Linked DNA regions of Homo sapiens: regions 2, 3, 4 and 5 are each linked to region 1. The links are contacts of gene promoters, found by promoter capture Hi-C in blood cells and fetal thymus (Javierre and others, 2016). All regions are on one chromosome and are shown on one strand. The core of a region is centred on a gene start or on the middle of the fragment in contact, and the rest is flanking DNA. Distances in the headings are between cores, read along the strand shown.

Region 1 (6,131 bases), core at 2,060-4,559:
AGGAAGGTACTTTTCCTATTTCTAAATCCTGGAATAATAATTTTTCTTTGGTTATAAAAATGGTATGAAAACCTTTTTTGTTTGAATTGCATATAAGCAGTTTCAGAATAATTCTTGAAATTTGATTAAAATAATCATACTTATGGAATTTACAACTAAGCCATTTTAAAATGGAAGTAATTTATAAATCTGAATGGTTCATATCACCATATGCTTGGGGAGAGGATTATTGCTATAACCATTGTATTTTTTGTTGTGGTTTATTTAATTGTTAAATTTTTATCACTCAAAGCTTGAAGAGGACAAACGGTTGAAGGAAAAGTATCAACTGACTTTGTTAACTATTCAGAAAAATCCATAAATATTTCCTTTGTATATCGGATTCAGATTGGATTTTTTGAAATTATGGCATAAGAAAGCACATCTCTTAATTTTTAATGTGAAAAAGTTTTTTCTATTTTAAAAATTAGGATCAAAATATTTTCTTTCATACTTTTTTCCCAAGCGTGAAGTAGATGTTACTTTTAATCTTAACATCTACAGAACAAATATATATTATAGTTGAGTAAAATTAGTGTTTTCTATTTTCTAAGGATTTGGGTCGGAACTTATACAGTCAATTCTACAAAATGTACTGTATTTAAAATTTTGCAAATCAGTTCAAGTGGAAGCTTCTTGCATTTGATTCCTCGTCACATCTTTACATTGGAAATTATAAACTGTGATCTCACCTGCCTTCACTTAAGAACAATCCACAAACAGTCAATTACAATGTAAAGTAATGTTTTTATTACTGTTTTCAACAAGACAGCTCAGGGTGAGGGTAGAGGTTCAGGAGAGGGAGGAGCACAGTCTGACATTGGCACTGAGAACGTTTAACATCAGTAAAACTTTTTTTTAAAAGAGAAATTTTACATATAGTTAAATAATTTTTTCACTTGGTGACAACATTCAGGCAACCAAAAGCAAAACGAAATGGGGGGGGGGATGGGGTGGAGAGAAAAAGGATAGGGGGAAAGAAGGAAAAGGGGGGGGAACTACTATACATTGATTTGAAAATGTACCTTGGGTTTCATTTTGTGGTGGCGGAGCCCGATTGCTTCTTTTGTGTGACCTTTTAAATTCACATTGTTTGGAAGAAAACGATCACTTTTGTGCAAGAATGTGATTTGTTTTGGTTGGGTTGCTCTCTTTTTGTTTGCTTCTTAATTAATGAAGGTCTTCTGCCGGATTCCTATTTCAGGTGACTTACATAAAAGTTTGTGTCCAGAGTTTCTGCTGTTTATAGCAGAGTTGTGTGTCTGAGAGAGCACGCCCGTTTGTGTCGCTTTTCAAGCAGTCCCCAGCACCCTATAGTTTGTCCAGGCTTTTGGGATTGGTGAGAATTTCCCTGGCCAACCTCCAGGTCTGCTTGGCAGCGCTCTCCAGGGCCGAATGGGGCTTGCCCTGAAAGAGGTCGAGGTTGGGCAGAAAGTAGTGAGGGCAGCGGCGGCACTGCAGGCAGGAGATGAGCTGCAGCAGGATGCCGTTGAGCCGGTCGCCCAGGCACGACTCGTCCCAGTCCGTTTCTCGTGGGTGTTTCTCGCACTCGTACAGCAGCAGCGTCTTCATGTGGTAGTTGTTGAGCGGCTGGCCGGGTAGCTCCAGGTGGCGGTCCCGCAGAGTCTTCAGCACTGAGAGGCACTTGTTTCGGCAGCCGCCCATCAGCAGGCGGTTCTCCGCCTCCCCGAACTGTAGCACCCAGGCGTCGCTCTCTGCCGAGCTCTGCTTGCCGGTCAGCGAGTAGCACTCCTTCGAGAGCAAGTTGAACCCTTCGGCCTTGACCTCGGCCACCCGATTGGGGCCGGGCCAAGGGATGTGGGGCATAGGCCACTGTGCCGCGCTGCGAGGCCAGATCCCGGTGCACTTGAACGCCGGAGTGATTTGCACCACATAGCGCTCCCTGATGCGCAACTTGACCTCGCTGGTGTCCGCGATCATCTTGACCACATCCCGATAGCTGCACTTGTCCACCGCCTGGGCCACCAGCGTCTGGAAACGCGAGCGGATCTTACGCGCTGAGAGATAGCCCGACGCCGTGATGAACTCGACCCAGAGAGACATGCTCCGCTTCCGCCCATCGCTCAGTTTGAGCACTGCGCAGCCGGGCAGCGAGCCGTCGTCCACGAAGTTGAAGACGCCCATCTGGTTTAGGTAGAGCACCACCTCAAATTCGGTGGGCGAAATGACCTCGAGCCCCTCGTAGCGGGCATCGATCTCGCTCAAGGAGCTGATGAAGCGAGGCTCCTGCACCTCCACTTCCTTGAGCACGTCCGAGACCACCTTACAGACCTCTCGGATGGTTTTGGCGATGGCCGCCTTGCGCGCCTGACAGCGCTCAGTGTAGTACTTATTGAGCTGGTAAACCAGCTTGGCCTGAGCGGCGATCATGTTGGGGCACAGGTCCGGGCTATACACCGGCGTCTCGCAATACGTTGAGGGATCCAAGGCTCACGCACTGGTGGTGGCCCAGCGGCTTTCGAAAGAGGCGGTGCGCTCCCCGTTAAGCCCTACTTTCACTCTCGTTTTCCACCTGGGCTGACCGGCTGATACCGTAGCCGGCTTGTTTTTTCCTTTTCCCTCTTTCGAAACCTCTTTTCTTCTGCAGAAGAATTAGGGGAGAAAAGGTGATTTTCTAAAAAGAAAAGTACCTCTTGGAACCTTTTTGCTTTCTCTTGATATGTAAAGATGACCGTGTGCGAGAGAAGCGGGGTGGGCGTGAGGAAGGAGAAGGAGAGGGAAAAAACTCAGGATACCAAAAGGTTAGGCTTAGATGTCTGCAGCCGAGATTGTCCAGAAATCTGGAAATGAGGTTTTTTAAGTGCCAAAGTAAATTTAAAAATAAAAGCGAAACATTCAGTGGTTCATTCTTAAACTTCTCTTCCACGCTGATAGGACTTCTTCGCTCAGTGTAGGTGAGTGCCTTCTTCCTCACCCTCCCCCAAATGGAAGGTGCAGGAGGTAATTAATGTCCAGAGAGCTGCGAAGTACAACTCAGTCCGCCGTGCACTTGGAGGTTTGCTGACGCCCCACAGTCTCAGCGTGTTGGTCTCGTCTCTTCTCGGGGGGTCGTGTTATCGCAGTTTTCCTCTTTTCCTACTGGAGGCGTTGTTTGGACTGGGTTTGTTTGTTTGTAGTGGGTTCTCCTTGTGTTTCTTTAGGTGCAAACCGCTGGAAGTTGTTTGATAATCATTTCTGCTTCGTAATTTATACTTTTGGCCCTCACAAAATCCGTTTTAGTGTGACGAAGTCGTTGCTTGCGTTGCATCTGGGGTGTAGTTATAACGATTCAGGGTTTTCCTTCTTCTCCTCTAGCTTGCTTTTACAGATTCCACTTTCTGAGTCGTCTCTCCCCCTCCTCTCCCCTCCGACCTCTTTCTCGCCCCGCTCTCCCCCTGCTTCTCTCCCCCGCCCCCCTTCCTCGTGCTCGCTCTCTCTTCTTTCCTCTAACTCTCTCTGTCTCTCTCTCTCCCTCTCTCTTTCTTTCTCTCTCTCCCTCGCTGTTTCCTGGAGTTATTTAGTTTATGAATGGTCCCAGGGCCATCATGAGGGGGTGGAGCTTCAGTTCCTACAATCGCTATCCGAGCTGTCAGTGCTTTAGCCAATCCGAGAGAGAAGACAGGCACGCTTGGCGAACGGTAGCAGCCACCACTGCACTTGATAAAGAAACAGGGTAAAGAGAGAAGTAAGAAAATAGGAGGAGATAATGGGAGTCAAATGCTTGCACACATTTTACAGCCGTTCCTCTTTATCCTCCTCTCTTATCAGTAGCAAAGAAGAAAAAGAGTTTATATAGAAGGGACTCTCCTGGAGATGGCTGGAATAACGCGAGGGAGAGTAGCAATGGTTCAGAAAGGTTCACTTTTTTTTTTTTTAAATGATTCTATCAACATTGTGTAGTAGAAGGTGCAAACTGTAACAAAATTACTTTGGCTTGAAGGCAAATGGGAAGCGAAAGGGGAATCTGGGAAAGGACCTAATTTTTCCAGGTTTTTTCCTCCTTTAAAGTCATCCTCCTTTCTCTTCCCCTCCCCTCCCATTGTTGCCAAGAATCAGAGCAGTTGCTGTATATGTGCACCAGTGAGGGTTGGAGTGGATATAAGGTGAGGGTTTATAAATCTCTTTTTAGTAATTTCGATATGCTGTTTAAAAACAGGGCAGGGCAAAAACTAGTCCAAGCACCTTGTTTGATAATTATTTCATAATTAAGATTCACATGTATTTAATACCATTATTTTATCGTTACAAGAATTAACTAGTTACGAGAGAGAAAATATCTAAGTTGTGAGAAATGGTGCAAACTTACATGTCGTAGAACTTAGTAGGATATACTTTTAAAATAAGCTACTAAAATTGCTTCAAACTTAATGAAAAACAAGGCAAGTAAATGTAAACCTAAAGTTTTCTTAAAATCTTACTGTTGTAAATCTAATTGTGAATGTATTCTTAGGGGGTACAGGTACAGAGTTTCATTTGTAAAATGATTTTATTTTCATAATTGACTCTTGCTTTTAAAAGACTTCACTGCCACAAAAATCTATAACTATCCTGTTATTGATTACACAGATGGCTTCACTCCTCCCTAGGCATTTCAATGAAAGGCATGCATGTGCTTTTAGTATATGTATTATCCTAAACGAGTTGTACCCACTGTAGCCTTTCCATACTTTTGGGTGAAAAAAAAAGCTAGAACATTGTTTCTGATTTGCTTGATACTGAGGGTTTATGTATGAACCTAAGATGTCTGGATTCTGAATCTTTTTAACGTATTTCAGGTAGATGTGATTATTTTTAGTTTGATTTGGGAGGTTATATTCCAGCCCTGGGTTATGCGATAAAAATAAAAATCTATGCGTCCATTTGGGTGAAGACTTCGTTTTAGAAACCTGGTAGTTCGGCTTTTTCAAAACCCCTTGGGAGGGCTTGACTTACCCTCTTAAAGTCCGGCCGGGTGAACCTGAATTGAATTGCATAGGGAAGTTAATTTCTTTCTATCTACTTGGTATCAGACAATTGGGCCTCTTGGTTCTTTCTTACATACCTGGTGCGGACCACAGGCAGTTTGTCACCCTTCCTCTCTCGTTGCCATAAGTCCCTTTCTAAGGAATATTTGCTTAAAAAAAAACTATCTCGGATTTGTTGCTTAGGGTTTGTCTTCCCGCGATTAGGAAGAAGAGTCAGAATTAAGTGTCCGCGCGACTCTTGGACTCCAGAGCTTTAGTTAACTTCTCTGGAGTGGCAGAGACTTGGGCTGCTTGACCTCCAGCCTTCTCCGGGGAGGCCGCGTGCGTCCCGGAACGCCTCGCCGCCTAAGGATCTAGGGGACCTCGCGCCCTCGGAGTTCGCGCCTGTGGGAGCCCGGCTCTAACCCGGGAGGCCTTGCCGGCGCTCTGGGAACTGCCTGGGCCGGAGGGCACTGCGCTGCCGGGAGAGCGCGACTGGCCGGGAGGGGCTCCGTGGTTGCTTCTCCGGGGGCAGTTACTGGGCGGAGACTGGTGGCGGGGATAGAGGGTGCGGAGCTTTCCCGCCCCACTCTCGAGGTGGTCGCTTCGTCGTTGCGTCTGGTTCGCGAATGGCCCGGCCCGCGACGCTCCCGAGAGTGAGTGTTTGCAAACAGCCTCAGGGGTGGCGGAGTTGGTTCGCATGGCTCCGCCGCCGCGCCGCAAGTCCTGCGCCTTCTCCTCTTCTCTCGGGTGGGGCGTCCCAGGCCGAGCGGACCTTCGCGCCACCACTCGCCGGACACTCCGCTGCACCTCCACTGGCGGCTCTGTCAAGCTCGGCTAAGTTTTCTCGCATCCTTGCCCCTACGCTTCTCCACTTTTACATACAGAGGGAAGGATGATAAAACGTTACAAATGTTTTGATTTAAAAACAATTCATTACCAATTTACCCTGTCTTAGGTAGATGCTCTAGTAAATAATAAATCAGTTAAACAAAGGCGACTTTAATTTATGGCCGTGGTACTAATTAGAAACATCATTCGAGCAATAAACTTAAACACTTCCAGCAAATAATGCTCCCTCTTGCTGGTTCTCTTTCTCCCCCCTCCCCCACCCCAACTCACTCTGGCTGCCTCTGCTCTAAGAGCAGC
Region 2 (6,131 bases), core at 1,149-3,648, 340 kb before region 1:
TCTTTTGTTTCCAGATCTTTTGGTTGACATGTTGGGAGTGCTGGCTAGCTATAATTTGACAGTTCGCGAGCTAAAGCTTTTCTTCAGTAAACTTCAAGGAGATAAAGGACGATGGGTAAAAAAACTTAAGTACTCTTTGGTATTTTAAAGTATGCTCCTCCCAAACACATTCGTAGCTTGTAAAGTAACTGATATTATTATACATGGGATAATTGTCAAATTGAATAGATTAATTAAAATAGCATTGAGATCCCTGTGGCTACTCGTGCCATACTTGGACACTAAGAGTATGCACTAAGATAATGGTGTTTCAGGCAAACTGGTAATTTAATTCTTCTTCAAAATGTTGTTCTTTAAATGTACATTCAATATTTATTAGAAAAAAAGATAAATGTAGAGAAAGAAAAGTATTAGGTAGTAGTACCTACCTTTTCTTCTTTTTGATCTAGTTTTATCTGAGTGGCTTAAACTTGAGTAACTCACTCCGTGAACAAAACCTCTGCAGTTAATTGGATCTACCCTCTTGAGATGCAACTTAGGAGTCATTTGCAATGGGTAGTGATGGGGGTGAACTTATTTTGAACCCCAGGTGCCTTATCAAACTGTTTCTTCCACCATATAGTTATCTGTCCCATTGAAGAGGAGTAGTAAATATTTTCTCCATTTTTGTTGCATTTCCAATCTTATTTTAGTGCCCTTTAGAGATCATTGCCCACAGCAACAGCTCAGCCAGCTGATCCTTAATCTAGCTTTCATTAAATGTATCTAAAACTGTGCCCTACAATTACTCTTTTTCATTATGTTAAAATTTAGATTCTTTAGCATATTTCTCTCAAACTCCAGTTTACTGTCTAATTTTAGTTTTTTTTACTAATTTTCATTGAATTTGATTATATTTCTGGTTCTAGCTTACCTTGTGTTTATCTTCTTAGAGTTTTTGCTTCTGTGGGGGTATAAGATAATTGTCACAAAATTTGGAAACATTTTAGTCATTGTTTCTTCAAATACTGTCTTCTTGTCCCCGCTTCCTGTCTTTTCTGGGACTCCAATTACAGATATATTAGACCTCTTGATATTTTCTCACAGGTTACTGGGATCTGTTAACTCTTTTTTTAATCTTTTTGTGCTTTATTTTAGATAGTTTTTATTGCTGTAGTCTCAAGTTAACTGATCTTTTCTTCAGCAGTGTGTTAATTCCATCCACTGAAATTTCAGATAGTATATTTTTCTTTCTGTAAATTTTTTTTTTTTTTTTTTTAAGGCAGAGTCTCGCTCTGTTGCCCAGCCTGGAGTGCAGTGCCATGATCTCGGCTCACTGCAAGCTCTGCCTCCCGGGTTCATGCCATCCTCCTGCCTCAGCCTCCCAAGTAGCTGGGACTACAGGCGTATGCCACCAAGTGCGGCTAATTTTTGTATTTTTAGTAGAGACGGGGTTTTGCCATGTTAGCCAGGATGGTCTCGATCTCCTAACCTTGTGATCTGCCCGCCTTGGCCTCCCAGAGTGCTGAGATTACAGGTGTGAGCCACCGCGCCTGGCCTTTTTTTTTTTTTTCTTTCTTTTGAGACGGAGTCTTGCTCTGTCGCCAGGCTAACGTCCAGTGGTGCGATCTCTGCTCACTGCAACCTCCACCTCCTGGGTTCAAGCAATTCTCCTACCTCAGCCTCCTGAGTTGCTGGGATTACAGGCGCACACCACCACGCCTGGCTAACTTTTCTATTTTTAGTAGAGACAGGGTTTCACAGTGTTGGTCAGGATGGTCTCGAACTCCTGACCTTGTGATCCACCCGTCTTGGCCTCCCAAAGTGCTGGGATTACAGGCATAAGCCACCATGCCTGGTCTCTTTCTGTAAATTCTATTTGGTTCTTTTAAATATTTTCCATTTTTTCCCTCATTTAATTCCTTTAAATCCTTGACAATATTTAGCATATGAATAGTTGCTTTAATGCTCTTGGTTTTTCATTCTAGAATGTCATTTTCTAGGTCAGTTTTTTACTCATTGATTTTGCTCCTTTATGTAGGTCACATTTTTCTGCTGCTTATGGCTACTGAATTTAGACAATATATCAGACATAGCAAATTTTATGTTGCTGAGTGTTGGATTTTGTCATATTCCTTTTAAGATTGTTAGACTGGTTTTGTAGGCAGATAAGTTATTTGTGGATCAACTTTATCCTTCAAAACTAGTTTAAAAGTTTTTTTTCCAGTAAGGTTTAGAGTGGCTGTTACGCTACGGCTAGTTTAGTTTTACTATTCAGGCGTGTCTCTTAGAGGGTCTCTATTGAATAACTCTCAAGTCTCAGACATAGGACAGGAGGTAGCAAGACTGTGGTCTCTCCGAAGTGTCTAGTAGGGTCTCAACAATTCCTAGCTCTGTATTAGTTTTGGGAATTCTTTAACTTAAAGCTCTTACTATCTTAGCCCCACCATGTTGAGTTTTATCATAAGCATGATCAGTCTGGTATTAAGTCAAAGAGTCAATGCAGATTTCTGGAGCTTCTTGTCTGTTCAGTTCTTTCCTCCCTAGTATTCTTCTCTGAAACTTCTATCTTCTGTGGACTCCACTTTCTTTCCAACTCACTGAGACTTTCGGGTTCTGTTTGGTTTCCCTGTGCAATGATATGGAAATTGACTCCAGGTTTAAGTCATTTTGTTTTCTCAGGGAACACAGTCTTGAGCTACCTCTTCCTGCATACTGAAAACTGTTTTTGTTTGATACATTTTGCCCACTTTTCTAGTTGTTTATGGTAGGTTGGTAAGTCCAGGTCCTATTAATATGTCGTGTCCAGAAGAGAAAGTATATATTTGATTTTGGTTTTTATTTATATTCACATTATTTATTCTGAATATGTAATGTATTTTTATTATATTCATAAGCATAGAAAATTATAGGTAAGAAAATAGCAAATAATATGAACTAATATTTATTTACAGAGGTAGAAACCCCACAACCAAATGAACACAAAATCATTAATAATTAGAGACATTCACATTAAAACAGTATTGATATTGTCACCTTCCATCTGTAGTTTCTCAAGAATTTTAAAGTTGGAAAATGGCAAGTATAGTTTGGGATATAGGGTTATTTTATACTTGGTGCGCTTTTCATTAGAATGAACACCAGTGGAGCCAACCTCAAGAGGAGTCTAGTGCTACTTAGTCATGTTAATTTTACCTGTATCCAGTGATTTAATAATTCACTTCTGAGTGCGTATTCCAAGAAATTCTCACATAGATCCATAAAATACATGAGGATGTTCACTGAAGCATTATTTTTGATGGCAGTGAATGTTAACATGGATGTTCATCATTAAGAGAGTGGATTGGTAAAATGTATAGAAGGTAGATTGTTCTATAACAGAATCAGTACATGGAGTAATAGGAATAGATGTAAAATATATAGGAAAGAAAGCAATGATAAGTGTAAGCACATAAAAACCTTTTTTTCTTTTCTTTTTTTTTTTTTTAAAGACAGGGTCTCACTCTCATCCAGGCTGGAGTGCAATGGTGTGATCATGGCTCACTGCATTCTCAGCTTCCTGGTATCAAGAGATCCACCTCAGCCTCCCAAGTAGCTGGGACCACGGACATGTGCCACCATGCCAGGCTAATTTTTGCATTTCTTTTAGAGGCTGGGTTTTGCCATGTTGTCCAAGCTGGTGTCAAACTCCTGAGCTCAAGCAGTCCTCCCAGAGTGCTAGGATTACAGGCATGAGCCACCACACTCAGCCCCAAACATTATTTTTGAAGGAATAATCTACATAAAAAAGATTAAACATGTTAATATAGTTGCCTATGGGGAGGGGGAGGAGAATGAGAATAGTTTTAGATGATAAAGGGAAAAAATAATGAACTATTTATAAAATGAGAGCAAGGCCTTGCTCAGATACTCATTACGTTTATTTAGTTATTTAATATTAGGCATATTATTTCTATCGTTTGCTGTTATAGCAGTGCAGTGAAAAAATCCCTATATCTAAATCTCTGTCTGCCCTTGTGGTGATTACTTTAGCATAGATTTTTACATGTGGAAATATTGCATTGGTGGACATGAACGTCTTTACGGACTCTTGAAATATGACTACTACATCTTTTTCTTTTCCTCTTTCTTTTTCTTTTTCAGACAGAGTCTTGCTCTGTTACCCAGGTTGGAGTACAGTGGTGCTATCTCGGCTGCCTGCAACCTCTGCCTCCTGGGTCAAGCAATCCTCCCACCTCAGCTTTCCAAGCAGCTGGGACCACAGGCACTTGCCACCATTCTTGGCTAATTTTTGTATTGTTTTCTAGAGATGGAGTTTCTCCATGTTGCCCAGGCTGGTCTCAAACCCCTAGGCTCAAGCGATCCCTCCACCTTGGCCTCCTAAAGTGTTGAGATTACAGATGTGAACCACTGTGCCTGGTCTACTAAATTTTTTTCTGAAAGGCTTTACCAGTACAGTATACACTCCCCCAGCAATGTCTGTCAAGTAAAGTGCTTATCTTAATGTATTCTTTTGTTGACTGATTTATAGGAAAGGAAATTTGGAGGAATGATGTTTCTAGATGGACATGCTATAATACTGTATTTTTATTTTTAACTGCAGAGTTATTTTTGGTTACTTTATTTTACTTTGGAATTTATTTTAAAAAATCACTGTGATTGTAGTTACTTGTTATTATGCTTTTACAATTGAGCAGTATGGTTAATTGAAAATTTCTTGTTCACTTAAGAATGAAGCTTCCACTTAATATTTAGGTGAAAGGTTGCCAAACTCTTTTACACAGGTAGTAATTATAATTTATATCATCTATAAAAATAAGATGAAGGCAAACCAATGATTTCATTTGTAGTTTGACCCTGTTTTGAACTTTTACATTTTTAACAAGGAGGAATGCCCCACACTTTTCTTATTTGGTTATAAACTGATTAAAATGAGATAGTATGTCTGATTATCTTTTGTTTTTCCTTGTAACTGCAAATGAGATTTTTCATTTTTATTGTTGGTTGTTTCATGTATTAGAGACTTGTGGACCAAGGAAACATTAATCAAATAAACTCAGCGTTGCAGCTTTTATATGTATATGCTATGCGTATACATATATTTATATGCTATGCGGTAAAGGTATATTGTAGAATGAAATATGATAGGGAAGTTTAATCCACTCTCAGTTTCAAGGAAGGCTACCCTGAGGAAGTGACTGTTAAGATGAGCTCTAAAGGCTGGGTAAGATTGACTTGGATAAGAGGGGAGTACAGGGGTCCTTTTGAGAACATTTTAAGCATAAGGAATAGCTTTTGCTGAGGCCCTGTTGTGGGAAGAAGACTGAAAAAAGGATGGAGTGCAGGGAGAAGGGGAGAGTAAGAAGCAAAATGAGGCTAAAGAAGTAGATAAAGTATCTTATAGTCCATGTTAAAGGTTTTGGTCCCTATTTTAATGGTGAAAGTATAGTTGTTTTTTTTTTTTTTTGACTTTACGATGGTGTGAAAGTGATATGCATTCAGTATACTCCTTCACTTAGGATGGGGCTACCTCCGGCTAAACCCATCTTAAGTTGACAATATTTTGGATCAAAAACATACTTTCGATTTACATTCTTTTCAACTTACTGTGGGTTTATCAGGATGTAACCCTATCGTAAGTTGAGGAGCATCTGTATAGTTGTTTAAAAGCATGGACTCTGGAGTCAAGATTGAGTTCTCATCCTGACCTTGACAGTTATTACCCATGTGACTTTGGAAATGTTCCCCTGCCTCAGATTCTTCTTCTGTAAACTGCGGATAATCATAATAATACCATCCCATAGGGTGGTTATGAGGTTAAAATATTTTAGTGTTTTTGAAGTACCATTTTTTGAAATGTTTATTTTTATTTTTTAATTTTATTTTTCCATAAGTTATTGGGGTACAGGTAGTATTTGGTTACATGAGTAAGTTCTTTAGTGGTGATTTGTGAGATTTTGGTGCACCCGTCACCTGAGCAGTATACACCACACCATATTTGTAGACTTTTATCTCTCACCCGCCTCCCACTCTTACCCCAAGTCCCCAAAGTCCATTGTATCTTTCTTTTTCCTTTGTGTCCTCATAGCTTAGCTCCCACATATCAGTGAGAACATACACTGTTTGGTTTTCCATTCCTGAGTTACTTCACT
Region 3 (6,131 bases), core at 1,220-3,719, 320 kb before region 1:
AAAGAATATATTCTTTGTAAACAATATCATTATTTTAAAAGATACAGGTATAGTCTTTGTTTTCTGAAATTAAATGAAATAAAGTTTTATTTGGGAGAGACTTCATTTACTAAATATAAATCAAAGTTAGACAGTTTTAATGTAATTATTAATGTTTCCTAGTAACTGTAGCTTTGTTCCATTGTAAATATCCATATATATTTTTTCTTTTTTTTTTATTTCTTAAGAACTCACCCTGCTCCTGCTCTCTCTCTTTTTTACTTCACACTTTTGCCTTCCAACATGATGAACTACTGAGTTTCATTCTTATAGGTACCACTGAAATGTCACTTTTTCTTTGAAGGCATGATATACTAGTCTCGTAATCATTTTAATTTCACGTTAATTCAAATTATGAAAACATTTGTACAAATTTTTTTTTTCAGTTTTGTAACAACAAACCAATTAGTTCTATGTGAATGTAAATGAATTTGTGGTAAGGTATATGAACAAAATCTTTAATAAATCCTAGTGTTGTAATACATTGTCCTAAAAATTCAGTAGTGGCAGTATTAAGCATAACTTGAAACAGATCATTTTATTAAATTGCATAATTGTATCCGTCTTATCTACAATTTTTGTTAGAAGTCGTGTTATTTCAAGCCCAGTTTTCCTCTCTCCCCTTCTGCCTTTTGGCCCACTTGCAGTGTTTATCATTGTTTAAGTTGGAATAGCACCTACTTATTCTAGTTGTCAGAAAAAAGTCTGCAGACTTTTTTGCTTTTCTAGAGTCTTAATATTTTATTTTCAGCTGGTCTTTTCAAATGTTAAAGAGAAAAACAGCTGCTGACTCTGATTGCCATTTGGAAATAATCGAAACAGGCAGTTGGAGGTTGTAGCTTTTTATCTCCAGGTCAAATTTGACCTCATTTTCTTCCATGACCCTCAGTCTTACTTCTTTTTGAGGATTGTTTCAAGTTACTTTTAAAATCTTTTACTAGATACTTTTTTGTCTTACTAATCAGCATATTTGTAAGGCTTTGTGTCTCTTTTGATGTGGTCAGAAAGCCTCTTATTAGATACTTAGTTGGAGGGGAATTAAAAAAAATTCATCTTATGATTTTCTTAGTTTCCTAGTATTATTATACTCTATTTCTTATCTTCTACTTTTTAATAACTTTTCTCAATTTCCTTTTTAGAATTTGCAGTTGAGTTGATAATATTAGCATTTTCTCCTGTTTTAGCCATCTGCTTTATGTATCCACAAGGGGTTTTATCTGCTTTTATTTTATTGTAAAGACAGTCATAAAAAAGGGCAGATCCAAATTTTGTTTGACTTGAAGGTCAAATGTTTATCATGTGGGAAATTTTTTAAGAAGAAGAATACAATATAATGCATACAAAATTAGGTTTAGGGTCTTGGAAGAAACATTTATAGATCAGTGGTCATAAAGTTGAAGCTTTATCAGCTTCGTGGTCAATCCACCTCTGGTTAAAAGTTGAAGGTCTGGATGTGTGGATGTGAAAAGCTTTGCTTTTGGAAAAGGGAGCTACCAGCGATTTATAATTTCCATTTATCTTAGATCTGTTCAGAGAACATCTTTTTAATGACCTAGCAGGAGAGATGAATTTTCTTGTCTACCATGGTCCTTCATTTACTCAACAAATATTTGTTGAGTGACTACTTTATGGTGGGCACTGTGGATATGGTGATGAACAAGATAGACTTGATACTTGCCCTCATAGAATTTAGATTTAGTGGGAAAGACAGATGTTAACACACAATTTGTGTGGCTATTGGAGTACATAATGAGTGAATGAGGGAAGGTTTATTCATAATTAGCATATGAGTAATCTTGAGGTCTTTCATTCATCTCTATACGTTGCTACTAAATTCTGTTTACTTATTTTTTTGACGCAGGGTCTCACTGTGTCACTAAGGTGGGATCTCAGCTCACTGTAACTTCTGCCTCCCCAGCTCAGGTGATCCTCCCATCTCAGCCTCCTGAGTAGTTGGGACTGTAGCTGTGTACCACCACACACAGCTAATTTTTGTATTTTTTTGTAGAGATGATGTTTTGCCATGTTGCCCAGGCTGGTCTCGAACTCCTGGGCTCAAGTGATCTACCTGCCTCAGCCCCCCAAGAGTGCTGGGATCACAGGTGTGAGCCATCAGGCCCAGCCTCTGTTCATTTTTCTTTTACCACAGTATCATTCTCAATAGACTGACTTTCTCCAGTTTTCCATTTCTTTGTCTAACTTATAACTATTCTGCCAGAATTCCAACATGTTCTTTTCATGGCCATGGCTCAGTGCGACCTTAAACTCCTGGGCTCAATCAGTCCTCCTGCCTCAGCCTCCTGAGTAGCTGATACTGCAGGTGTGCGCCACCATTCCCAGCTAACTCTTTAAATTTTTTTGTAGAGACTAGGGTCTTGCTTTGTTGTTTAGGCTGGTCTCGAACTTCCGGCCTCAAGCAATCCTCCTCTCTCAGCCCCAGAAAGTGTTGGGATTACAGTCTTGAGCTACCATGCCCAACGCCAATATTTTCCTAACATATGACTCTTATAATTTCTTAGCCCCAGCAGTTTTAATGGTTTCCCATTGTTCTCAGAACGAAGTAGTTAGTCCTTTATCTAAGGATTTCATGTCAATTCTTATTTCTAGATTTTCTAGCTTAAAAATGGAAATATCCTCAGTGGATAGGGAGGTACCAAAAGGTTTCCCTACAGTGGTGGTTCTCAGTCTTGACTGCTGATAGAATCAGTTGGGGTAGGTTTTTAAAAACAAGCAAAAATAGAATCCCACCACTTCCACTGCAGATTCTGATTTCATCAATCTGGTGTTATCCGTGGAGAGTGTCCAGGTTCTTGGTGTCTTGAACAAAGGATTGGACAAAATGCACAAAGCAAGGGAAGAATGAAGGAACAAAAGCAGAAGTTTATTGAAAATGAAAGTACACTCCACACTGTGGGAGCAGGCCTGAGCGTAGGGGCTCAAGAGCCCTGTTACAGAATTTTCTGGGGTTTAAATAACCTTTAGAGGTTTCCATTGGTTGCTTGGTGTATGCCCTATGTAAATGAAGAGGATACAGTAAAGTTACAAAGTCATTTACTCGGTGTATGCCCTATGTAAATGGAGAGGATATTTCCTGTCATAGCTGTAGCATTTCCATTTGATTTAGTTCTAGGAAGTCCTTAGGTTCGCTGCCTCCAGACCCTATTCTCCTGCCTCACTGGGATGGGACTCAGGCATCAGTATTAAAAAAAAAGAAAAGTTTTTCAGTTATTTTAATGTGCAGTCAAGATTGAGAACTGTTGTTCTAACTCTAGGGAAACCTTTATTTCAACCATCATTTTTCTAGCTTGAAATTTCCTCTTGTATTCTGTCTGTCTATTCTACTACTCATCTTCAAAGCCTATCTTAATGCCTACTTTATTAGTGAAGCTTTTCTTTACTATTTCAGTTTATCCTATAATAATTTATCTGTCCTCTGAATTAATAATATTTCATAGCTCTATGTCACTCAATTACATATTGCTTCATGACTTTTTTCATGTTTTGGTAGGCATATTTATTGTCTTTGATTTGTTTTGCTTAAATATAAGTGTTTTTTTAATCTTTTCAACTGTATTTCAGCTACTTAGGGACAGCATATGTGCCACTGTATTTCCATGATACAGTGTTATGCATATAGTTAGATGTAAATATTTGCTAAGAGACTGAAATAACATGGTTAAGAATTTGAGGCATGTCGTATTGTCTCAATGACAAGTGGATTGGGCCTATCAATTTGAACAGCAGTAGCTACATCAAAATAACATTTTGCGGCAGGTCAGTAGATCACAATGTATTGTATGTGTATAGATACATATATGGTTTTGTGAATTATAATGATCTTCCAAGCCCTGCTTTTAAGTGGTTCAGAACCTGCCACTTTTTAGCATGTTAGATTTATTCACTGACACTCTAATTCATTTAGCCTTGATTGTTTATTTGCAGGGCACCTGGAAGATAGGTACCTACTTTTTGCTCTCTAAAGAAATCCCTAGGTGACACTGAGGTACCTTGCAGGTTTGAAAAGGAAAATGCCCTCATTGTCCAGGAAGGTAACATAAAGGTTCAGTTATAAATGATCAGTAGTTTGGTCTATGGTCAAGGGAAGAATATATATCCTATACTTACAGTTGTTCAGCTTATAAAATATACCCTCTAGCAATAAAATGAATTGATTTCAACATGAGAGTAGAGCAAAAGCAGTCGTTATTTTTGCTGCTTTAAGTAATGGATTATAGTTGATGAGTTTCAGACCCATAATTTCACTGAAAAAAAATTTGTTTTTTTTGAGGCAGGGTCTCTGTTGCCCAGGCTGGAGTGCAGTGGTGCTCTCTCGGCTTACTGCACTCTCTACCTCCTGGGTTCAAGCGATTCTCTTGCCTCAGTCTCCTGAGTACCTGGGACTACAGGTGTGTACCATCACGCCCGGCTAATTTTTGTATTTTTTGGTAGAGACGAAGTTTCACGATGTTGGCCAGGCTGGTTTTAAACTCCTGACCTCAAGTGATCTGCCCGCCTCAGCCTCCTAACATGCTGAAATTACAGGCGTGAATCACTGGGGTGGGCCAATTTTTTGTTAAGATGAAATGTGCAGTGGTGGGGTAGCACTTGTATTATTTCTTTCTCTTACATATGAAGAGGAGATATTTCGAAGTTAATATAAACATATATAACTTCTTATGTATTTTTTTAGACTATTTACTTTCAATGAGATTAGTAGAATCCTTTCCTAATTGGGGGACATGATATACATGTTGAGAGATTATAATGTTATGATTAAAATGCTAGATTGGAATGTTTCTTGTAATGAGCTACTGTAATAGAATTCTGTTTTTCTAATATTCTTCAAGGTAAACTCTATATCTTTTTCTGTGGTTTTCTTTCTTTTGGTTTTGTTCTATTTATTTTTTCCTTTTGAGTTACTAGTACTTTTTCTTTTGAGTCATTTTAGCTCCTGATTTTCTGCAAATGTTGTATTTGAAAGAAATTCTAGCTTTTTCAAACAACTATGCATAGATAGCATAAGTAATAAGTCTATTATAAAGAAGTTACACATGCTTAGGAATAATTGCTGATTGCTAAATAGGAATCACAAAGTTATTTTCATGGAATAATGCAGCAAAAAGTTTCCATATTTGATAATGCTGCTATAAAAGAAGAAATTACCTGGTTTGGTTTTATAAGGAGTGTGTGTGCATGTGCTTGTGTGTCAGTGAGTATGTGTTGTCTAATATGGATATTATTATCAGGCTCAGCATCTTACTTTTTGGAAGAAGCGTGGTGAAAATAAAACAGCCTGGAAGTGTTACTGGAAACAGATAAAATGCTGGTGGGGTTCTCTAAGTTCTTCATTTTTATTCTGTAGGTTCAACTGATGCTCTATACTTATCTGTCCACGGAATTCATTGGTACAGTCAACATATATAACACCATTCGGAGAGTTGGAACAGTGCTTCTCATCATGCACACGCTGAAGTACTACTACTGGGCAGTGAATCCTCAGGATCGAAGTGGTATCACCCCAAAAGGATTAGGTATATAATTTCTGTCTGTATATTACTTTACACAAATGCAAATCAGGATTTAATTTTTCTTTTTGTTTTAACCAGTACTATCATATATTTGGGCAGTTTTTCTATATTCCATTATGGCAAAATTTTATTTTAATCTCATTGATAATGTTAATAGTTTGTCCTAAATTGTGGTTTCTAGAGTTTAATAACTTGCTACTTGTGTGGAAGAATACTACTTGTGCTGGTGTGAGTTGTTTGGGGAGCTAATATGACTAGGATGGTTGTTGTAAGACACTGAAAATGCCAAGAAATTCTTAATTAGTTTTTAGTAATTGATGCTGAGATGGATTGTCACAATGAGATTCCTTGAAAATGGTGTTTTGGGAATATGGTGGTTTCTTGCAGAAGTAGGAGTTATCTGCTTCTCTTAAAGAGATAATGAAATTACAAAATGTTAGCAATTATTTTCTTACATAATGAGGACTAACTTGCTGAAAGGGTAATATTCATTCATCATGTCTAGCAGTTCATATAAGGGGTCAAAATAAAACTTTTGACATATAGTGGCTCTTTTGGTTGTAA
Region 4 (6,131 bases), core at 1,526-4,025, 300 kb after region 1:
AAAGCTCCTACATATAGGTTACATTGAGGAAATGAAGGACCCTTGCTGCTCTGTCTCCTGGGATTCATTTCTTGATTCAGTGGACGGCTTCCTTCTTGTCTCCACTGTTCTCTGCGGTCTCTCCATCACATTCTGCCGGCCTCCACGAGGCACGCACAGAGACACACTCGTACTCGCTTTTATTTTTCCCTACCTTCCCATAATGCTGCATTTAAACCAAGTACACATCAGAGGATTTTCTTTTCCTCTTTTCTTTACAATAATAATGTGGATAATCTGTCACTTTGAGTTGCGATTATATTGTCAGCTACGCTAATAAATCTGTAAAATAATTTGAGATCCCTGGCTGACTGAAGCAATTTCTGTGGCATTTCAGTTAGTACCAGGGGCTCTGGGAAGTTCCTTGAGGCAGCAGTGGGAGGCTTTCTGCAGACCATTCATACACACATGCTTCTCCTCTCTGCCCTGTAGCCATTGCTTTTTCCCTCTTTAATATTTCCCACTGGATTTTAGGCTTAAACAATCCATTGCCTTTTTCCCAGCACTCCTGCACTTTATCATGCTAACTTGCAAGTGGCAACTGTGTGATTAAAGCGAGCTTGCCTAAAATGAGCAATACCTGCCCACAGCTCCAGAGACTGATACTTTCACAGCTCACTACCTCGGGAGGCGAGGAAGGAAGCCACAGGCTGGGAATCCAAGACACCACAGGGCAGAATCTCCAGCTCCTTCCTCAATCTGAGCCCATATAAGGAATGGACACCATGGAAACAAATTAGTCATCAGCTCAGACCAGAAATTAAGTTTCTGTGAAATACCAAGAACCCTGCAGGCAGGCAGCCTGGGGAAGCTCTGCACTTCCCACCTATTTTTATTTTAGATGCCAGATTGCTCTGTGGCATTTTGGTTAGCAGCATATCACAGTCCATCAACTAGACAGTGTTGAGATGTCTTTATGAATAGCTGATATTTAAGGAGGCAGCCTGTACAGAGCAGCAAAGTTATTTTGTCCTAAACAAGGGAGAACCACCATTCACCCAGGGGAATGCATTTGTTTTCCCTTCCTGAGGCTGTTTTAGAATGTGGTCATCCCCAGCAGATTGCTGTGGCCTGCTACTACCTCCTTAAAACCCGTGCAGCCACGGCATTGTCCAGAGCACTCAGGATTTCAGGGGATGAGATTAACATGTGTCTGGGGCCCTCTGAAAACCTCTAGTCACAACCCAACCTGGATGCGGAGGCGGCCTGTCAGAATTTGAGTGGGAGATCAGGTGCTGCTTGCTAAATGTTACCCTGGCTCTTGCCGCCAGAGGAATTTGGCCTCTCCTGAAAGAGGCCAGCGAAATCTTTTTTCACCTTGGGAGGCATCTGATTCATTAAAATGTTTTGAATGCTGATGACTGTATAGTCCCTAAAGCCCAGGTTTTACTTAATTTCAGATGGAAGCAGGATTAGAGATTCTTTACTAGAACAAAGAATTAAAGATCAGTGGTTTTGTTTTAGTATAACACTTATCCAGTAAAAAGCTTCAAGTATCAAATTCAAATGAACTACAACCATAAGGTTAATGGATTTTCATCAGCTGAATTTTATAAGTGTAGCAAATAATTGTTTGTCCTAGTCTCCACTGCAGTTCCCAGACACCCCTAGAGATTGCCATTTGTGAAATGAGTGGGGGAAAAGGATACTGATTTTTGCTCATCTTGAAAATATCTTAATATCTGTGTTAACAAAACTTAGAGAATATGTAACTAACTGTCTTCCACACATGGGTTTTTATTTCCTAGATGTGTTTTTGTGTTCTTGAGAATAAGCTGTATTTAAGGGACTACTAAAAGTTGGCATTTGGGTGAATGTGAAATAAATGGCTAAGAAAGTCTTTGCCTTTCTATGATTTTTTAAAAGATATGTCAAACAGTGAAGACTTAAGGCAGCTATGCTAGAACTGAATGTAGAACAGTGTCAATGTATCAGAAATTAGGTTTTTTTCTTTCTGGCTTGCCAGCACAATCTGTATTCCCCTGTGTCCAGGTGGACATGCGATTACAGGTGTTTGTAGTGGCTTTAAAACTCTGATGCCATCCACTAAAGAAAGGAAATTTGTATCTTAATAAGCTAAGAAAGCAAGGCTTGGAGGTACCAGGCAGGAGGAGAGGAAGGGGTAATAGGATTGGCTTTTGGAGGAGGGAGGGACAATTAGGAGTAATCACACTTTTTCTATAAATGGACAGAAAGTAAATATTTTCAGCTTTGAGGGTTCTGCATTCTCTGCTGCAACTACCTGTGAAAGCAGTCATAAACAAATAATAGGTGTGGCGATGTTCTGGTAAAACCTTATTTATGGAAGGCCAGGCGCAGTGGTTCTCGCCTGTAATCCCAGCACTTTGGGAGTCCGAGCGGGTGGATCACTTGAGGTCAGGAGTTCAAGACCAGCCTGACCAACATGGTGAAACCCCGTCTCTACTAAAAATACAAAAGTTAGACGGGTGTTGTGGTGGGCACCTGTAATCCCAACTGCTCAGGAGGTTGAGGTATGAGAATCACTTGAACCTGAGAGGTGGAGATTGTAGTGAGCTGAGACTGCGCCACTGCACTCCAGCCTGGGTGACAGAGCAAGACCCTGTCTCGAGGGGGGAAAAAAAAAAACCTGTTTATGGGGATTCAAATTTGGAATTCATATAAATATTCATGTGTCATGAAAAATTCAAGCATTAAAAAATGTTAAACAATTATATGAAACAGGCAGTGGGCTGCACTTGGCCCGCAGGCTTTCATTCATGGATGCCCATTTTACAGGATCAAAGAGCAAATTCTGAGCCTGTACTGTCTGTTCAGCGCTAGTAGGAAAGGACAGAGGGGCACAGCCTAGAGCTGACTAAACCACAGGCTGGAGCACTGTCAGCCCTGGAGCAAGAAAATGCTGAACTGAGATTTAATCACCCTGGAAGTTGTTGTAGCTCTCTACAAAGTCTTCTTCCCAACTGCTGTCAAAATCCAGCAGGCTCAGGGAAGGTGCCGAGGCTGCTGGCCGCCTCCCTCCAGCTGGAGTTGCAGGGGATTAGAGGGGATGTAAGGTCAGGTGGCACCATCTGCCAAGTCTTGGGACAAAACAGGCTTATTAGCATGTCTGCAGTGCAAATGAAGAGATGCCAGGGCTTCTCATTAGAGCACTGGTCCCAGTCCACAACACACACCATTCCAGTAGCATTTGTAGAACTGGAAGAGTTTGCTACCTAGTATTTAAAAAAGCAAAGCCAAAACAATCTCAAGCATTGATGAACTTTGTCCATTTGGTTTTTGAAAAATGGCAGATCTTCTACAACTCACGATTTTCTAAAAACTCCTGAGGATCTCTCTCTCTTCTCTCTGCACCGTAGTAGCTGGTGTAAGAATGACTCAAAAACAGGGTGGGGGCCGAAAGTTTCCTAGAACCACATTTCTACTGAATGTTGCTGTGTCTCACAGGCCATCCAGCTGAGCCGAGATGGGCAGTACCTGCTCACAGGAGGAGACAGAGGAGTGGTCGTGGTCCGGCAGGTGTCGGACCTCAAGCAGCTCTTTGCCTATCCAGGATGTGACGCTGGAATCCGGGCCATGGCGCTGTCTTACGACCAGAGGTAACACTGGAATCATGGGCTACAAATAGGGGTTTCAAAAACTGCAGAGGGGACTGGTCGTGTTGGCTTACACCTGTAATCCCAGTACTTTGGGAGGCTGAGGCAGGAGAATCACTTGAGCCCAGGAGTTCGAAGCCAGCCTGGGCAACATTGCAAGACCCTGTCTCTACAGAAAAAAAAAATTTTTTTTTCAAAATTGTATAGTAAAACCTGCAGAGGGAATTTATTTAAATGGGCTGATGGAGTTGAGTTGTGGGGGTCACCTGTACAATCAAACCAAGAACACTTTTTTAAAAAGTGTGATTTTCTTTCTGATGACATTGCCACTCTTGGACAAAGGCTGAGTTCTCAAGGAATAGACAGAATTTAAGTAGCAAAGGCTCTGATTACAGTGATGCAAAGCTTTTTATATTTCTTTGAAGTATCTTTTTTTAAATTATACCTTAAGTTCTGGGGTACATGTGCAGAACGCAGTTTGTTACATAGGTATACATGTGCCATGGTGGTCTGCTGCACCCATCAACCCATCATCTACATTAGGTATTTCTCCTAATGCTATCCCTCCCCTAGGCCCCCACCCCCACAACAGGCCCCCGTATGTGATGTTCCTCTGTGTCCATATGTTCTCTTTGTTCAACTCCCACTTATGAGTGAGAAGATGAGGTATTTGCTTTTCTGTTCCTGTGTTAGTTTGCTGAGAATGACAGTTTCCAGCTTCATCCATGTCCCTGCAAAGGACATGAACTCATTCTTTTGTATGGCTGCATAGTATTCCATGGCGTATATGTGCCACATTTTCTTTATCCAGTCTATCATTGATGGGCATTTGGGTTGGTTCCAAGTCTTTGCTATTGTGAATAGTGCCGCAATAAACATAGATGTGCATGTGTCTTTATACTAGAATGATTTATAATCCTTTGGGTATATACCCAGTAATGAGATTGTGGGTCAAATGGTATTTCTGGTTCTATATCCTTGAGGAATTGCCACACTGTCTTCTACAATGGTTGAACTAATTTACACTCCCACCAACGATGTAAAAGCATTTCTGTTTCTCCACATCCTCTCCAGCATCTGTTGTTTCCTAACTTTTTAATGATTGCCATTCTGAAGGGTGTGAGATGGTGTCTCATTGTGGTTTTGATTTGCATTTCTCTAATGACCAGTGATAAAGAGCTTTTATTCATATGTTTGTTGGCTGCGTAAATGTCTTCTTTTGAGAAGTGTCTGTTCATATCTTTTGCCCACTTTTTGATGGGGTTGTTTTTTTCTTGTAAATTTGTTTAAGTTCTTTGTAGATTCTGGATATTAGCCCTTTGTCAGTTGGATAGATTGCAAAAATTTTCTCCAATTCTGTAGCCTACCTGTTCACTCTGATGATAGTTTCTTTTGCTGTGCAGAAGCTCTTTAATTAGATCCCATTTGTCAATTTTGGCTTTTGTTGCCATTGCTTTTGGTGTTTTAGTCATGAAGTCTTTGCCCATGCCTATGTCCTGAATGGTATTGCCTAGGTTTCCTTCTAGGGTTTTTATGGTTTTAGGCCTTACGTTTAAGTCTTTCATCCATCTTGAGTTAATTTTTGTATAAGGTGTAAGGAAGGGGTCCAGTTTCAGTTTTCTGCATATGGCTAGCCAGTTTTCCCAACACCATTTACTAATTAGGGAATCCTTTCCCCATTGCTTGTTTGTGTCAGGTTTGTCAAAGATCAGATGGTTGTAGATGCATGGTGTTATTTCTGAGGCCTCTGTTCTGTTCCATTGGTCTATATATCTGTTTTGGTACCAGTACCATGCTGTTTTGGTTACTGTAGCCTTGTAGTATAGTTTGAAGTCAGGTAGTATGGTGCCTCCAGCTTTGTTCTTTTTGCTTAGGATTGTCTTGGCTATACAGGCTCTTTTTTGGTTCCATATGAAATTTAAAGTAGTTTTTTCTAATTCTGTGAAGAAAGTCAATGGTAGCTTGATGGGGATAGCATTGAATTGACTCTATAAATTACTTTGGGCAGTATGACCATTTTCACAATATTGATTCTTCCTATCCATGAGCATGGAATGTTTTTCCACTTATTTGTGTCCTCTCTTATTTCCTTGAGCAGTGGTTTGTAGTTCTCCTTGAAGAGGTCCTTCACATCCCTTGTAAGTTAGATTCCTAGGTATTTAATTGTCTTTGTAGCAATTGTGAATGGGAGTTCACTCATGATTTGGCTGTTTGTCTGTTATTGGTGTATAGGAATGCTTGTGATTTTTGCACATTGATTTTGTATCCTGAGACTTTGCTGAAGTTGCCTATCAGCTTAAGGAGATTTTGGGCTGAGATGCTGGGGTTTTCTAAATATACAATCATGTCATCTGCAAACAGGGATAATTTGACTTCCTCTTTTCCTATCTGAATACCCTTTCTTTCTTTCTCTTGCCTGATTGCCCTGGCCAGAACTTCCAATACTATGTTGAATAGGAGTGGTGAGAGAGGGTATATCCTTGTCTTGTGCCAGTTTTCAAAGGGAATGCTTCAGTT
Region 5 (6,131 bases), core at 1,536-4,035, 260 kb before region 1:
AAAATTTAAGAGACATTCTAATTGTAAGCATAACAAAATAAAAGTTATCATTTATTGACTATTGTCATTTGTCATTGTTGATTTTCACGGTGACAATTTTGTTCTTTTTATTCATGAGGAAATTGAAGATAAAAGAAATTGGGAAACTTATCTATAGCTAAAAAGCTATAATTGGTGAAGGTAGAATTTGAATACTATACTTTTGTCTAACTAGTGCTCCTACTCTTTCTATTGTAGTATACTTCTTTAATCTATTAGTATTATAATTAAAATATTTAGACTTTATTGCTTTATGTGTGCCATTTTCGAAGGCTTTTCACTTTCCTAGAAAGAGTACATTTCTAGAAGTAAAAGTGCAAGGCTATACTAGCAAAGCCTTACTCAAGAATCATCAGATTCAGAGGCTAGGGAAATACTCTATGTTCCTAGTTTTTCATAGCCACGGAAAAGAATTAAGAGATAATTTAATCCACCCCAGTACCATCTGTTCTTATATATGGAAATGGGACTTAAAAAATGACTTGTCCAAGATCATTTAATAGAGTATGGTAAACAAAGTAACAGTCCAAATGTGTGATATCTTTTTTTTAAATTGTATTTGTGTAAATTTATGGGGTACAAGTGCAATTTTGTTACATACATGGATTGCTTAGTGGTGAAGTTAGAGCTTTTAGGGTATTCATCACATGAATAACACACATTGTACCATTAAATAATTTCTCATCATCAGACCCCCCTCACCCCCTCATCCTTCTGAGTTCTGAGTCTCCATTTTCTTTCTTTTTTTTTTTTTGGAGATGGAGCCTTACTCTGTCGCCAGGCTGGAGTGCAGTGGCAAGATCTGGGCTCACTGCAACCTCTTTCTTCCGGGTTCAAGCAATTGCCCTATCTCAGCCTCCTGAGTAGCTGGGACTACAGGTGTGCCCCACCACACCCGGCTAATTCTTTGCATTTTTAGTAGAGACGGGGTTTCACCATGTTGACCAGCATGGTCTCGATCTCCTGACCTTGTGATCCCCCCGCCTCGGCCTCCCAAAGTGCTGGGATTACAGATGTGAGCCCCCACCGCTGGCCTGAGTCTCCATTTTCAATCATTACGCACTCTACTTCCATGTGTACACACTATTTAGCTCCCACTTATAAGTGAGAACATACAATATTTGTCTCTCTGTGTCTGACTTGTTTCACTTAAGATAATGATCTCCAGTTCCATCTATATTGCTGCAAAAGACATGATTTCTTTCTTTTTTACGGCTGAATATTATTTCATTGCGTATATGTACCACAGTTTCTTTATCTAGTTATCTGTTGATGGACACTGGTGTCCTCATTCTTGTTTCCTGAGGTTGGAGTTAGAAGTTAGGATGACAGCAGTAAGAGTAACTGATTGAAACCAGGAAATGAGGTGTGATTTTTAACTTTGTAATACAGACTCAAATTTGATTTTATGCAACTTGTGAAAAAGTTTGTATGAAAAGTATTTCCTGGGTCTGATAGCAAATTTGATAAAGTAAAATATTTCTTGGGTCTGATAGCAAATTTGACAAAGCTGTATTCCATATTCTCTCTTCCCTCCTCTTGTTCCCTCCTTCCTTTCTTTCAACTTTTATTGCTCTCTTTGGGCACCTTTCAGAACACTTTCTTTCTAAATTCTCATGCCTGCTAGCCATGTGATAGGCCAGTGATTCTTTGTGAAGTCCCCCCTTAAGTTTGCTATTTTGTTCCTAATTTGCTCTCCCTCCTTTGCTCAGTTCAAGTACCTTGAGTGCTACAGATTTGGAGGGAATTTAGATGATTACATGGTATCAAGCAATTCATAGTGAAGGGTACATAATGTAATTCATCATTTAAAATCCAAAATTAATTTCTAAGTAATCTAACTGCCTGATTCGTGGGAGCCTTAGGTAATTTTAGACTGTATATTAATCAAATTCCCTTTCCTGTCTCCCATTTTCTAAGCAGTTTTAATGAAAGCTAGTAAATGCTGGACCCTATAAAGCTTCTTTCAAAAGCTATATCCTCTATTAGTCTCAATTAATATCATGCTGTAATGATGCAATATAAGAAGAACATCAAAGTTTCCAGTTTAACTAATTTACTTTAATGATGGTAATAGAAGATTGTTACCTCGACTAGTTCATGGTAATGTACTTTGTTCCCTGTTTTCTTCCATTTCTTTCAATTCTTTTCTTCCCTATCCTTTTCTTAACTAAAGATTGTCCCAGCTAGCTTAGTTGAGATCTAAGAAATAGTAGCCTATTGTTAAGATTCCTGAACTGATTTCCTTTCAGCAAACCCTAAACGTTTAGACCACTAGGCCATACTGCCTCCCTAAATCTTAACTGGGCCACAGCATGGAAGCTAACAATATCAGACAACCAACACTAGGCGATAAAGTCTAGGGACATTTTAGGAATAAGCTGAATGTCGTCTGTTTTGAATAAAATCTTATGTAAATCATATTGTGTAGTTGATGTTTTTCACTTCCATAATCTTAAATATTAACTTTTCTTTCCCTATCTTTTCCTTAAAATAAATTACAGTTTGTGCAGTCGCAGTAAGGAATTGCTTGGAGTGTCAACAGCATTCACAACTGAAAACTAGGGGAGATAAAGCCTTGAAACCAATGCATAGCCTTATTCCTTTAGGGAAATCTGCAGCGAAGGTAAGTATACAGATTAATTAATTTTCAAAAAGCATACTCCTATTTTACAATTAAGATTTTTATTTGTTCATTTCAACATAAAGTTAAATAAATCTGGCAGAGATTAAAATAGTTACTTTAGGCCTGCATATAACATTCAAATATTTGTGTTTAAATACACAATAAAGATTTGTTTATATTTAAACCTCTCTGCTTTTCCCAGTGTTTACTTTGATTGTTTCTGTGATGCCTTTTCCTTCAAATATGTCATTTTTTCCTGCATGCCATCTTTCTCCACCTCTCTCCCCAACCCCTCAAAGAAGAAGGAAGCATACACACAAAAAAAGTGGGGAAAGGAATGCTATAGCTTTGCTTTTCTGGTTCTGGGAATACTGTGTTTATTTTTAAAGAATATCTGTGTAATGTATATATGAATATATATATATACAATTTTTTTTTAATCTTAAATAGAGCCCAGTGGACATTGTGACTGGCGGTATATCTCCAGTAAGAGATCTTGACAGGCTTCTACAGGACATGGATATTAATCGGCTTAGGGCAGTTGTTTTCAGAGACATAGTAAGTTACAATATGTCTTTCACATACTCTCTTAACTGATGCATATTTCCTCTTAGGCCTAATGTATTGAGATTAAAAATTCTTTGTGATATCAAATAGTGGAGCAGAGATAGAAAGGTCTAGAAACGACTTCTTTTGACAATGATTTTAGAAACAGAATATTAGAAAAGATAGTTTATATAAAGCGAGCTAGCAGATCAGCATAGTGATATTAAAAGGAATAATGCATTATTACATAGTAAGCAGTCTAAGTGATATACATGTATTAATTAAGTCCAACAACTTATTGAGCTGTACTATTGTAATTTCCATTTTATAGATGAATAATCTAAGGCACATAAAGCTTGAGTAACATCTCCAAGCTAGTGTTGATAAACAATGATAAAATCAGGATTCAAACCCAGCAGTCTTAATTCTAAAATTGATGCTCTGAATGTAATAAAATGTTCAACTTCTGAATGGCATATTATTTTACTGAATATTGGATATTTTTTCCTCAAAGGTACACTAATGTGATAAAAAGGTGCATGATGAAATGTTGCTCTCAGTTTGGTGTTTCTAATTTTTTAAAGTTGAAAAACAGTTTTGTTTCAGCTGATTTTGATAGAAAACATTGCTAATTCTTATGTAGACAATTTAAAGTCATATAGAAAGTATAAAGATGAAAGTAAAAATAATTTATAATTGCACTCATCAGCATTTGGAATATTATCATTAGTAAATATTTGTTGAACACTTACTGTATGTTTTACATATATATTTCTTACAAACTTTCTAACCTCAATTTTTCTTTTTCCCCTCCCTTTTTTTCAATAGTTTTATTCTCTTTAGTTCTTGACTAGGTTTTTATGCATATGTAGAATTTGGAGTATTATCACTACTTAATAGTATTGAATACTTACTGTGTATTAAACATGATACTGGATGCTCTTATCAGGGGTCCCCAACCCCCAGACCACTGACCTGCACTTAGGCTGCACAGCAGGAGGTGAGGTGAGCAAAGGGTGAGGAGTGAAGCCAAGCTCCGCCTCCTGGTCAGATGGGCAGGAGCATTAGACTCTCATAGGAGCACGAACCCTATTGTGAACTGTGCATGCGATGGATCTTGGTTGTGCGCTCCTTATGAAAATCTAATTATAAATGTAATGCACTTGAATCATCCTGAAACCATGCCCCCTACCCCCACCCCGCCTCTTACCCCCTACAGGTCCATTGAAAAATTGTCTTCTATGAAACTAGTCCCTTGTGCCAAAAAGGTTGGGGACCAATGCTGTATATGTGTGTTTAATTCTCACAATAATTCTATGAGGGAGTTAGCAATATTTAAGTAATGTGCTTAAGATTATACAATTAGTAAGAGGTGAAAGTGAGTTTAGGACTTAGGGAATCTGATTCTTGAAATTTTGATCTTAACTAAAAGGCTATACTACCTTCTTAGATCATAGTTCTCTAGTAGCTGTTATTATTCCTTTAATTAAGAAGCCATCAACTTTTTTTCTCCCTGGAATCCTTTGAATGTGGTCAGTTTGAGGACCAAATGTTGCTGTTTTCTCCTCTGTTCACTTTTTTTCCATTGGGCAGGTTCTGAGTCTATTGTCCATAACTTTATATTTCCTAGAATGATCCTTAAAAATCTAGAATAGAATTAGCCACATGTGGTAGCACACGCCTCTAGTCCTAGCTACTTGGGAGGCTGAGGTGGGGAGGATCGCTTGAGCCTAGGAGGTCAAGGTTACCGTGAGCTATGATTGTGTCACTACAGCCTGTGTGACACAGCAAGACCCTGTCTCATAAACAAACAAATAAACTAGAATAGATGATGTTACTCTTTTTCTTTCAGAATTCTCTAATATCATCTTTTAGTGGTTAAATGGAATCCAAACTCTTCACAGTGCCTCTGGATGATCTGGCTCTTGAAGAACCTTCTAACCAGTTATTATATTACAATATTCTGCAAACAATTAGAATATCTCCTTTACTATATGATTACTGAAAGTCATAAATAATTTTAAGTGTTTTGTAATTATAAAAGTTATATAATCACCTTATAGGAGTTTTAGAAAAAAGAAAACACTATATTTTACATGCTAGAGTTTAGTCTCTTTAGGGAACAAAAGGAACCTATGATGAAAAAGGAAATCACTGGGTGGGTGCGGTGGCTCACACCTGTAATCCCAGCACTTTGGGAGGCTGAGGCAGGTGGATCACAAGGCCAGGAGATGGAGACCATCCTGGCTAACATGGTGAATCCCCATCTCTACTAAAAATACAAAAGCAGAATTAGCTGGGCATGGTTGTGGGTGCCTGTAGTCCCAGCTACTCGGGAGGCTGAGGCGGGAGAATGGCGTGAACTCGGGAGGCGGAGCTTGCAGTGAGCCCAGGTCACACCACTGCAGTCCAGCCTGGGCGACAGAGCAAGACTCTGTCTCAAAAAATAAAATAAAAAAATTTAAAAAATAAAAAGAAAAAAAAAGGGAAATGACCTAAGATCGACGACATAAATAAATTTCTACCTTGAGGTAAAGAGCTAAGGTTTTTAATCACCATAATCTGAGTTCAGATTTGCTTTTTTACATACTATATGTCCTTAAGTAAGTTGCTTCTCTAAGCCTTATCTTGTTCAAGTTTGCTAATAAAAATATGTATGAAATACATAGCACAGTGCCTGGCCTACGGTAAGTATTCAATAAATGACAGCTACAATGGAAAGCAAATCTATTTCTTGAGTTAGGATTTAAATGTAAACGATTTATGGGATATTTTTTATTTGAGGCCAAAAATCAGGCATATACTGTAAACTTCATGTGGTAGTTAGTAAACATTGAACATATTAATGGGCTAAATAAGGATTTAGATTGGCATAACTAATTTATAACAGACTAAGAAGTTAAGAACAAGTAAATTATTT

The links. The method cuts DNA at HindIII sites, captures the fragments that hold promoters and counts their contacts. A CHiCAGO score of 5 or more calls a contact.
Region 2: a fragment that was not itself captured here is called in contact with the fragment with the promoter of MAB21L2 in region 1 in 1 of 17 cell types (megakaryocytes); the score reaches 5.2 in megakaryocytes.
Region 3: a contact is called between a fragment that was not itself captured here and the fragment with the promoter of MAB21L2 in region 1, in 1 of 17 cell types (endothelial precursors). The highest score is 5.7, in endothelial precursors.
Region 4: a fragment that was not itself captured here is called in contact with the fragment with the promoter of MAB21L2 in region 1 in 2 of 17 cell types (megakaryocytes and M1 macrophages); the score reaches 9.9 in megakaryocytes.
Region 5: a contact is called between a fragment that was not itself captured here and the fragment with the promoter of MAB21L2 in region 1, in 2 of 17 cell types (megakaryocytes and endothelial precursors). The highest score is 6.1, in megakaryocytes.

The regions. Positions count from the first base shown.
Region 1 is chr4:150,579,329-150,585,459 of GRCh38, reverse strand. It overlaps MAB21L2 (mab-21 like 2), which reads right to left and starts at 3,309. Exons shown (of 1, transcript NM_006439.5): 1 at 767-3,309. The coding sequence starts at 2,430. The coding sequence ends at 1,351. All of the region lies in intron 40 of LRBA (LPS responsive beige-like anchor protein), which reads left to right. It overlaps LRBA-AS1 (LRBA antisense RNA 1), which reads right to left. Exons shown (of 2, transcript NR_149035.1): 1 at 6,105-6,131; 2 at 4,226-5,856. The HindIII fragment of the contact is 6,793 bases long and covers 674-6,131 here.
Region 2 is chr4:150,922,500-150,928,630 of GRCh38, reverse strand. LRBA (LPS responsive beige-like anchor protein) reads left to right here. Exons shown (of 57, transcript NM_001364905.1): 4 at 15-115. Among named protein-coding and RNA genes, the nearest start is that of LRBA, 90 kb to the left of the region's middle. The HindIII fragment of the contact is 4,640 bases long and covers 79-4,718 here.
Region 3 is chr4:150,899,488-150,905,618 of GRCh38, reverse strand. LRBA (LPS responsive beige-like anchor protein) reads left to right here. Exons shown (of 57, transcript NM_001364905.1): 14 at 5,402-5,570. Among named protein-coding and RNA genes, the nearest start is that of LRBA, 110 kb to the left of the region's middle. The HindIII fragment of the contact is 1,918 bases long and covers 1,511-3,428 here.
Region 4 is chr4:150,275,339-150,281,469 of GRCh38, reverse strand. LRBA (LPS responsive beige-like anchor protein) reads left to right here. Exons shown (of 57, transcript NM_001364905.1): 56 at 3,466-3,617. Among named protein-coding and RNA genes, the nearest start is that of DCLK2, 200 kb to the right of the region's middle. The HindIII fragment of the contact is 2,493 bases long and covers 1,529-4,021 here.
Region 5 is chr4:150,841,192-150,847,322 of GRCh38, reverse strand. It overlaps LRBA (LPS responsive beige-like anchor protein), which reads left to right. Exons shown (of 57, transcript NM_001364905.1): 27 at 2,544-2,665; 28 at 3,116-3,223. Among named protein-coding and RNA genes, the nearest start is that of LRBA, 170 kb to the left of the region's middle. The HindIII fragment of the contact is 1,567 bases long and covers 2,002-3,568 here.